Regions from separate parts of the Homo sapiens genome. Here region 1 is linked to region 2. The links are contacts of gene promoters, found by promoter capture Hi-C in blood cells and fetal thymus (Javierre and others, 2016). All regions are on one chromosome and are shown on one strand. The core of a region is centred on a gene start or on the middle of the fragment in contact, and the rest is flanking DNA. Distances in the headings are between cores, read along the strand shown.

Region 1 (4,490 bases), core at 309-2,808, 33 kb before region 2:
GCGGGGAAGGGATGTCCCCACTCTCCAGCCCAGGAGAGGGTAACAGCGTTGCCGGCACGGACGCTAGCTGCCAAGCTGAGCAGCCGGACAAGTCCGCTGCGCCGGGCCGCTGGCTTGCAGACCCCGACCCTCTCCCGCCCCAGCCCCTCCCTTCCTCAAGCCCCTCGCCAAATGAAAAGGGTTCTTTGGGCCTTGGCCTTTTGGGGAAGACGCGGGAACCCACGCTGAGTTTGAGTTTTCTGTTCAGAGCAAGGCCCACACAGGTCATCGTTAGCTTGGAGTCCTTAGAGTCTAGATAGCCCACTCCCCACAATACTCAAACACAAAGGGACCCAAATCACGAATGGGTTTCTTCTGGAGTGGTCCCTGTGGCGGGGGTTTGGAGGAACGAGGGTTTCTGCGCCCCTGACTAGACGCTGGGAGCCCTGGCTTCCGGGACCTAGGACAGAACTCGAACCCTCATGCCCCGGCCACTTTCTTCCTAGTCATGAGTAGTGAGGGGTGAGTGGCTTCTGCCAGGCCTCTGTGGGCCTAGCACTCGGTGGCAGTGGGTGAGGGTCGTTGAGTCCGGCAAAGAGACATGGAGCAGACGCTCTTCAGCCATCCTTGCGTTATTGAGCTCGGAGACTCGGGAGTTTGGGTAGGAAAAAAGGCACTGTCCTGGCAGGAACATTTCCAAAGCCTCCCTCCCTGCGTCCTCAGGTTCCACGCTGAAGGCTTGGGGAGTGGTAGTTGTCGGGTGAACTGATACTGTGGTCCCGGTATTCCAAAACTGGCACAGATGGAACTGGCCCTGGGATAGACTGCAGTGTGAGCCCGGCACTGACCTAGGCATCCTGTTCCCAGTGAGGGAAATGAAATGATAAGCTCCACAAAGTGGGTCTACCTGTTCAAATGAAAGTAAAAATCTAGAGTAGGATTGGAATCTGTCGGCAACCACTTCTGATGTTATGGGACCCAGGATTCTTACTAAAACACCCAAAGGCTGTAGATGTTAGTCGGTCAGAGGTTAGAGTGACCCAGGGACCCTCTGTTGCCCCTCCCCTTTGTTTACAAGCGTTGGCCACTCCACCTAGAAAGATTATACGCTCACTCTGGAAATGTCAGCACATTGGCCACAAAATACCATGCAGATCCCCAAGGACTTCACTAGAGAGGAAAGCAATAATCCAGCGACTGAACCCAGGTGTCTCTCACCAAACCCTACCCTTTCTGGTCTCTAGGCCAGGGCAGTTCCTCCACCAGTCCCGACGTTTGCGCTACCTAAGCACGTTTGGATTTAACAGGACCATTTCAACTCCAAGACAGGCAAGCTGACTGGTATTATTTGCAAAGGGTCAAGTGGAAACCCTAGAACAGTCATTCAAGCAAATGGCTCCTAGTATCTCAAATGGGGCGGTGGGAGGCTGGGGAAATGCCAGAGAGCAAGAGGAAGTAGGAGAAAAGAGTGGGAGAGAGAGGCGGAAAGACAAAGACAAGCCGGCACCCAGACTTGGATCTGGGCAAGGGATGAGGGAAGGGCCTAGGGAACCTCCCCCAAGCCGCTGCCCGGTCACCTGGGGCCTGAGCTCTGACTAGGGGTAGGCTAAGTCTTCTCCGAGGGGCTAGGGATATGAGAACAGCCGGGGCGGCAGCTCGGGCTTGGGAAAGGATAAGAGAAGAAGGCCTCCCTGGTAGGCCCGGTGTAAACTGGAAGCCCAGCCACCCGATGCACTGGGGTGTGGCCGGCTGGGGCTCGAGCACCATGCAGCCCCCGGCCCTCGGCGGAGAGGCCCTGACAGGCCCGCTCAACTCGCCGTTCCAATGGCAGCAGCCCCAGGTTGCTCTACCCTCTGCTGTCGGCTCCGCAGTGTGAACTCACTTAAACCAGCGCGGTTTGAAAACAAACACGTGCAGCTACCCCGCCGCACTATTTTGGGAGCCTAGCCAGCGACTTTCACAGGCCGGAGCCTCTGCTTGGTTCTCTCTCTAGCCCGCGAGGGCGGGGGAGTCTCATGCATATTCATCAGCACGTGGAACCTCGGGCCACAGGCCGCGCATGCGCACATCTCGCCCTGCCCGGCCAGAGCCTGCCGCGACGATTTGGAAAGCGCCCCGCCAGGCTGCGGGGTGGCGGGAGGGTCCCTCAAACGCTGACGACCCAGCCTTCGGTGGAGGTGTTGTGGGGAAGTCTCGCTGTTGCACCCCCTACACCTACCCCCGAAGACTGTTTCCATGCTTTCAATAAATCCACCAATGCAAAAATTTCCCTTTACGCACTCCATCCCACCCCTGTCCTTTCTCCACAACTTTCAGTTTTCTTAGTCAGAGGCTAGCATTTTCGCGGATGAATGGAAAATGTTTAAAAAGGAATCGCGATGCGAGCTTCTCTCACCGTTTGTGTTCCCGCTTACTGTAACTTCATGGACATTGTTACACAAAAGAAAGACGTAAAATAACAATTTTTTAAAGTTTGCTAAGGTCGGACGGCTTGGGTTTGCTTGCTATTGTTGTTTTTAAAGATGTGATTCCAATATGTTTATACCCACGCTCAATAGTTGATTCTTGTGTGTGCCATAGGTGAAAATGTCACTGCGTAACTTTCACAACCGGTGGATTTTCCTGGATATGCTTACAGAGATGTCTGACAACCATCAGAGGCAGCCAAAGTATTGTGGACAGTTGACACAATGTCAGTCTGTGGCATCTTCACTGCCAAGTGATATTTCCACTCTAGATAGCTAAACCCGATTTTTTAAAAACTCACCTTTGGTATATAACATCAGTTGGAAACTTCACACTGTTTTAGTTCTTCACTCTAAAGTGGATATCAACTTTAGTAACTGATGACAGATCCCAGCTTCCACAGTAAAAATAGCCTCTGGTTTGGCCTGATGTGTTTCCTCTTGCTAAGGAAGGGACTCTGGAGCAAACCAGCCTTGCATAGATTTAAGGAGAACATTATTCATATTTTGCACCTATTACACCATTGTATTTGCAATAAACTTTAAGGAAAAGGATTGAATGTGACATAAGAAGTTAACATTTTTTGTATTTCTTGCCCCAAAATAGTGCTTATCATTTTTTAAAAATTGCTATATGGTTACCCATAATAATCTTACTTTCTATATCTAACTAGTTTAAATGGTACATATTACAGAGGATGGACAGTGTGGTTAAAAGCCGAAAGAGAGACTATCGTGGCTAACTTGTACCTTTAGCGGCTTGACGGCACAGACAAGATCAATCTTTCCATTGCCAACACTATTTTCAATAATTCTAAAACAGTTGATATCAACTGTGACTATCTTTATGAAAATGCTTTTCCCCACAAATACGAACACATGATTCTAAGAACTACACTTGATGCTACAAGGAAGCCAGAACTCTGTACCTAGAGAGGAGGAGATAAATTTGTAATCGGTATTATAAGTTGGAAAAAGAAAAGAAATGTAACTTGGGAATGTGTAAGAGCTGATGTCTTTATATCTAGTCCACAGCCAAGGGCACAAGTTCCTTTATTTTGAGTGTGCCAGACCACCTGCAGTAACTCCTCATAACATCTTAAACTAAATCTTCTCTTTAAGGTCTAGGGCCTTCTCCAACTCACTTCCTGAAAAGCAGTATGCTCAGGTAACAACTCCAACAGCACCGACTCACAAGGGGTCCTAGACACTGATTTAATGTTGGCCTCAAAAAGAAAACTTCTGGAAGCTTTTGGGGCTAGGTGAGGTACTTGAGGGTATAATTCTCTGGCCAGCCCTTTAAAAGTTCTGAGAAAACTTCACAATAAAAGCATCTAAATGCCAGGCCTATCAGCAAAGAAGGTTAGTGCTACTTTCATTGTCAGGAAAAAAAAAAAATAAGAAAGAAAGAAAAAAAAAAGATAAGCAGATGGGGCAATTGAAAGGTTACATCTTTCTTTTGGAGGTGGTTTGCTTTTTAAAGGTTAACTTGAATGCTTGACTTTAAAAAATCAAAATCATCAGCTGCAAACGCTTAAAGCAGTTGGGGGTAGCTTTTGAAGAAGAAAACAAAGGATCTGAAATGTTTGAAATTACTTAGCCCCCATATAAATGGTGCTTGTATATTTATATGCTTGCTCTACAAATGCACACACACACATACCACAACTCATTTCTCTTCATTTCTCAAATATGATTGCTTGTACTCAGGCATTTTCTGTTGACACAACATAACTTTTTAATAACTTGTTAGCTGTTCTAATCATTTGATAGTATTCAGAATACAATGCAATTGCAAAATGAACCAGGACAGCATTCTACCTAAGTCAGAATCTAAAGCTACACACAGGAAACAGCTATTTGCAGCATCTTCAGCTCCTGCTAAAGAGAGTCTAACAATATATTTTGCTGTTCACATTTATGTATTTCAAAACCTAATAGCCCATGAAAAAAAGTATGAAGAATACATCTCAAGAAGCAGATATTAAAGGTACCAGCAAAATAATAGACTACATTTAACTTCGAAGGATTATTTTAGGCCACCTA
Region 2 (4,210 bases), core at 1,524-4,023:
CTTTGCAATTGCGGCCAAAGGGAAAAAAATCAGGTCCTTTTTCCCCCCTCCCCCCATCTGCAGGGAGAATGCGGCTGCCCCAAAATCCTAGCTAAGACTTGAAGAAGTAAAGGAAAATAAAATAATAAAGCTTTGGCAGACTCATCTCAGTTCCCTAAGAATTTGAAAATCAGTGTGTGTGTATTGGGGAGGGAGGTAGGTTTTCTCTCTGGGGAGGGCCCCACAAAAGACCTCAATTTTAAAATCTGAGCCCAGCAAACAATTCCTGGCCCTGCCACTGATGAATTTTCTTCTGCTCTATCCTCTTCAGACGCAATTAGACAATTAGCACTCCTGCCCGCAGCCCCCACAACTTTCATCAGATGAAATAACATCCTAACTGGAGTGGAACTATTTTCATGACTCCAAATAAAAAATGCAGTCTTCCAAATACACCTTTAGTGAATCCGTCCTTGAGAAAGGGGGACTGAAATTCCTGCCTACACCTAATACAATAGGGCCCAGAGGCTGCCTGACCCAGCGCGGGCAGTCGGCAACAAACAACTCCTTCCCATAGTGAAACACCAACCCCACCACTAAGGTGCAGAGGGCATTTGCGGAACTTGCTGCTTCTGCCAATGTTTAAAAAGTCCCCCTTCCTGAAGTAGGACTTTTTTCTTTGTCTTCTGTTTCTAAGCTCCCCATTTTGCTTTCTATCTCAATCTAAAATAATGAAATAAAACAAAATGTTTGGTCGGCCACTAATCGCCTTTAATTTTTCATTTGCTTGTTACAGATGTCCACCGCGTTGCTCGCAAGGTAATCTCGCTCCGCGCAGCTGAGCGCCCCGCATCTCGCGCCTGCTACATCAAAGGGCCCGCGCACAAAGCAGTGTTTCTTCGCCACGGTGCATCTTCATGGTAAGTTAGGATTTCTATGGCAATGTGCAAGTCGCACTGAAATCCTGAAAGGCCAAGCCTGGAGCCCGTCCAGGCTTTTCATTAAGGACATAATATTTACGTCTAACAGACCTTTTTTCTTGTGTATACAAGTATATATTTTTGTTTGACGCGGACTAAATCATTTTCATTTAATTTCCGGTAAACAAAACCCACGCGAATGGGCACTTGTACCCGATCATAATAAAAATGGATAATAATGTGAAGGAAGAAAAGAGCCGCTTGAATCGCCGCTCAGCCCCCTTTGTTTCTGCTTTCTGCGGTGATCAGAGGGCGCGTTTGGGTTTGATGGCGAGTTTCTAAAGGCGAGGAAATGGTTTGTAAGAGGGGAAAGAAAAGGAGAAAGGTCTAATCAAGCTCGGGTTGTTCAAAGAGTCGGGTTTTGGGGTTGAAAGTGTGAGTTTGACGGTGCATCAGCATGCCGCGTTAGGCTCGCCATGGAAATACGCGCGGGGAGCGGCCGCTTCAAAGGCGGCACACTTCACTACAGACACTCTATTAAGATACATTTGCGCTGACCTTTGCTTTCACGCCATTTAATACTGTCACTGCGCTCTCCAGTATATACTTCCTTTCTAGAACCCGACTTGCCCACGTTTAGGGGTTCACTCTGCACCCTGATGTGGGAGGCTTTGGCGCAGGGGACACTTTCAGGAAAGGGAGGAGCACAAGGACTCTGTGCATCTTGACTGCACCCCAAAGAGGCTCCAGGATCAGGAGTGAAAGATTTTAAAGCAGCCTCCGAAGCTTAACAAATGAGCATTCCAAGCTCAGTTTTGTGCAAATCGCCTTTCTGACTCTTGAGTAGGATGGAGGCTTAAATTTAATGGCGACTTGGGGGGAAGGGAGCCACCCTGGGGGAGTCTGAGGAGTTCAGACTGTGCCCTTGGGAATTTCCACTCTGGCTTTCCGTGCCACTCTTCTTCCTTTCCATCCCAAAAGTCTCTTGCGGCCCCTGAAACTTGTTTCTTTCTAAGGCAGGGTGTGTGGTACCCTTAGGCCTGGACTAGTCCTAGATGCAAACTCAAGAGCCCAAGGCCAAGGGGATGTGGGGAAGATGGCAGGAAAGTTAGAAGTCCATGTTCCCTTAATTGTCTTGTTGTTTATTTTATCCAAGTACCCCAGTGAATAGGGGAAAAATAAACACAGTGAAAAAAAAAATCAAACAGTGGAGTCTTCTTTAGTGCCAGTCCTTGTGGTTGAATAAAAAGGATGGTCCGCTTTCTATTGAGCTGAGAAATCTTTGAAGTGGGAGTTATTATCTGAGACATTCCTGCTTGTCGTCCTAACAACGCTGATGAAACGTAAAAGGTTCTTTGTCAGCGATTTGTTCTCCTCTCTGTCAAACTCCCTCTGCCCCGTTAGTTTCAAACCGTTTCTAAAGAGATAAAAATCAAACTTCTTTTAAAACAATATCCACACACTGCATCAATACATAACTTTAGGTCTAAGTCTTGCTAAGGGATAAACAAAAGCAATGCCTAGACATCAGGGTCAGGGCCTGGTCTGGTGAAGTATGCAGAAGTTGGGGGGCCCTCGGGACAAGCTTTGGGACATGAGGAAAAGAATGCAGAGAGGGTGCAAGCAGAATACATACCCTAAGTCCATAATTGTGTTTCTGCTTCTTTCTGCTCTGGTTTGCATTCAATCAGCCCAAGTTGGGTCACATAGATGGGTTTCCTTTGGGTACCCCTCAGGCTCCTAATATTCTTGCCCAGGATCCTTGGAACTTAAGAATGCAGCCAAGCAATTGTTAATATCTCCTGCTCCTTCAAAGCCACCTCTGCTAAAAATAGACCCATTGTGTGTTTCTTCTCACTAGCAGCAATCAACAAGCCCTTTCTGCCGTTAATAAGAAGGAGAATAGCTGAAGGAGAGAGATATTTTATTAATTTCCTGTTTCCTTCAGAATCTTGGCAATTGAAGTTTAGAAGGTTTGGTCTACAACACAGTGATCGAAAATGCATGTAAATGCCCATCCTTCCCTTCATTCACGTGTGAAGTTGTTCATTTTATATTGTGCCCAGCAAAGAAACTTTCACCCAGTTCAGGTTTCCCCAAAACTCCTGTGGTGGTTTTAAAGGTGGTTTAAATAAATAAGGATGTGCTGGTCCCCCTACTCTGTGTGTGCTGAATAAATGGCTTGTAAAGAAGTTTTTCCAAGCTGTAACCCATGCTGTTATTATAGTTGCTGCAAAATGTTCTTCCTGATATTGATTTTATTTGTTAACTGAAGGTCTCCATATGTTTGTTTATATTGCTAATTTATGAGAAAATGTAATAATTGCAATGAATGTGAATTATACAGACAGGCAAACATTTTGTAATCATAATTCACATATACACAAAAGCCTGGCTGAAATCTTTAGACTATTTGTACCCTCTCTACCCACACTGTTTGTGATTTATCATCTGTCTCTTTAGTGTCAGTTAAATTATGAACTAACTTGAAAATAAAAGTTGTTTGACTGAAAGTGATTGTTGAATGAACAACAAAGTTGAAAGCCATGGCTTGATCTTGTAAATATATAAATGTAAATGATATTAAATCTGTGATTCCTTTTCCCTCCAAAGGCTTTTGTGTACATGGCGCTGCATTTGGCTATTTTCTTTGGAAATAAATAATGTGATGTTTCTCTTCCTCTTTTGAATCCTGGTGTCCTGTTATTGTTTCTTCATCCTGGACGAGATTCGAGGCCCTCCAGAAGCCTCCAATTCTCTCCTCAGTCTTTCTTCACCGCTTCACACAAATATCTCTGGGGGCCTAGTCTCAGGACAGCAAAATGGAGGGACCCCCTAAAGCAGCCATTGTGAGAAAGACTTCTCTCATCTCAATTTCACCCTAATGGCACTGACATCATCAACCAATTTATTAATACTTTATAGAATGGAAAAAGTTGAAAGGATCCTCTCAGTGTCTGCCAGGAAAGGCTACCTTTCTACATTTCCAGCTCAGAGCAACGTCAAATAACCACCCCTGAATTCCCAGAGAAAAGTCCAATAGCTGGTGGGAATCAAAACAAGGAAAGAAAAAGACAGGACAGTTCGGCTGTAAGACCTGAGTAAGCGCTGGTGGAGTGTCTGAGGCACAGTTGGCCGCAGAGATCTTCCTAGCTGGACCCTGCCCCCTCTGGGAGAAGTGATTGCTCAGACCTCAAGGCTCCATTCAGATACCTGCGCGAAGGCCTATGCCTGAAGACTGGGAGGCTACAGCCCACATGACACTTCCCTGGGCCCCGATTGAGATATCTGGTGAGTTTTAGCATCCGATG

Evidence for each region. The method cuts DNA at HindIII sites, captures the fragments that hold promoters and counts their contacts. A CHiCAGO score of 5 or more calls a contact.
Region 1: a contact is called between a fragment that was not itself captured here and the fragment with the promoter of ZIC4-AS1 in region 2, in 1 of 17 cell types (fetal thymus). The highest score is 5.4, in fetal thymus.

The regions. Positions count from the first base shown.
Region 1 is chr3:147,416,777-147,421,266 of GRCh38, reverse strand. No RefSeq gene overlaps it. Among named protein-coding and RNA genes, the nearest start is that of ZIC1, 9.7 kb to the right of the region's middle. RefSeq lists enhancers at 103-1,031, 1,970-2,119. The HindIII fragment of the contact is 4,275 bases long and covers 1-3,695 here.
Region 2 is chr3:147,385,425-147,389,634 of GRCh38, reverse strand. It overlaps ZIC4-AS1 (ZIC4 antisense RNA 1), which reads right to left and starts at 2,773. Exons shown (of 2, transcript NR_046703.1): 1 at 2,536-2,773; 2 at 729-2,316. It overlaps ZIC4 (Zic family zinc finger 4), which reads left to right. Exons shown (of 5, transcript NM_032153.6): 5 at 776-3,589. The coding sequence ends at 776. The HindIII fragment of the contact is 2,882 bases long and covers 2,487-4,210 here.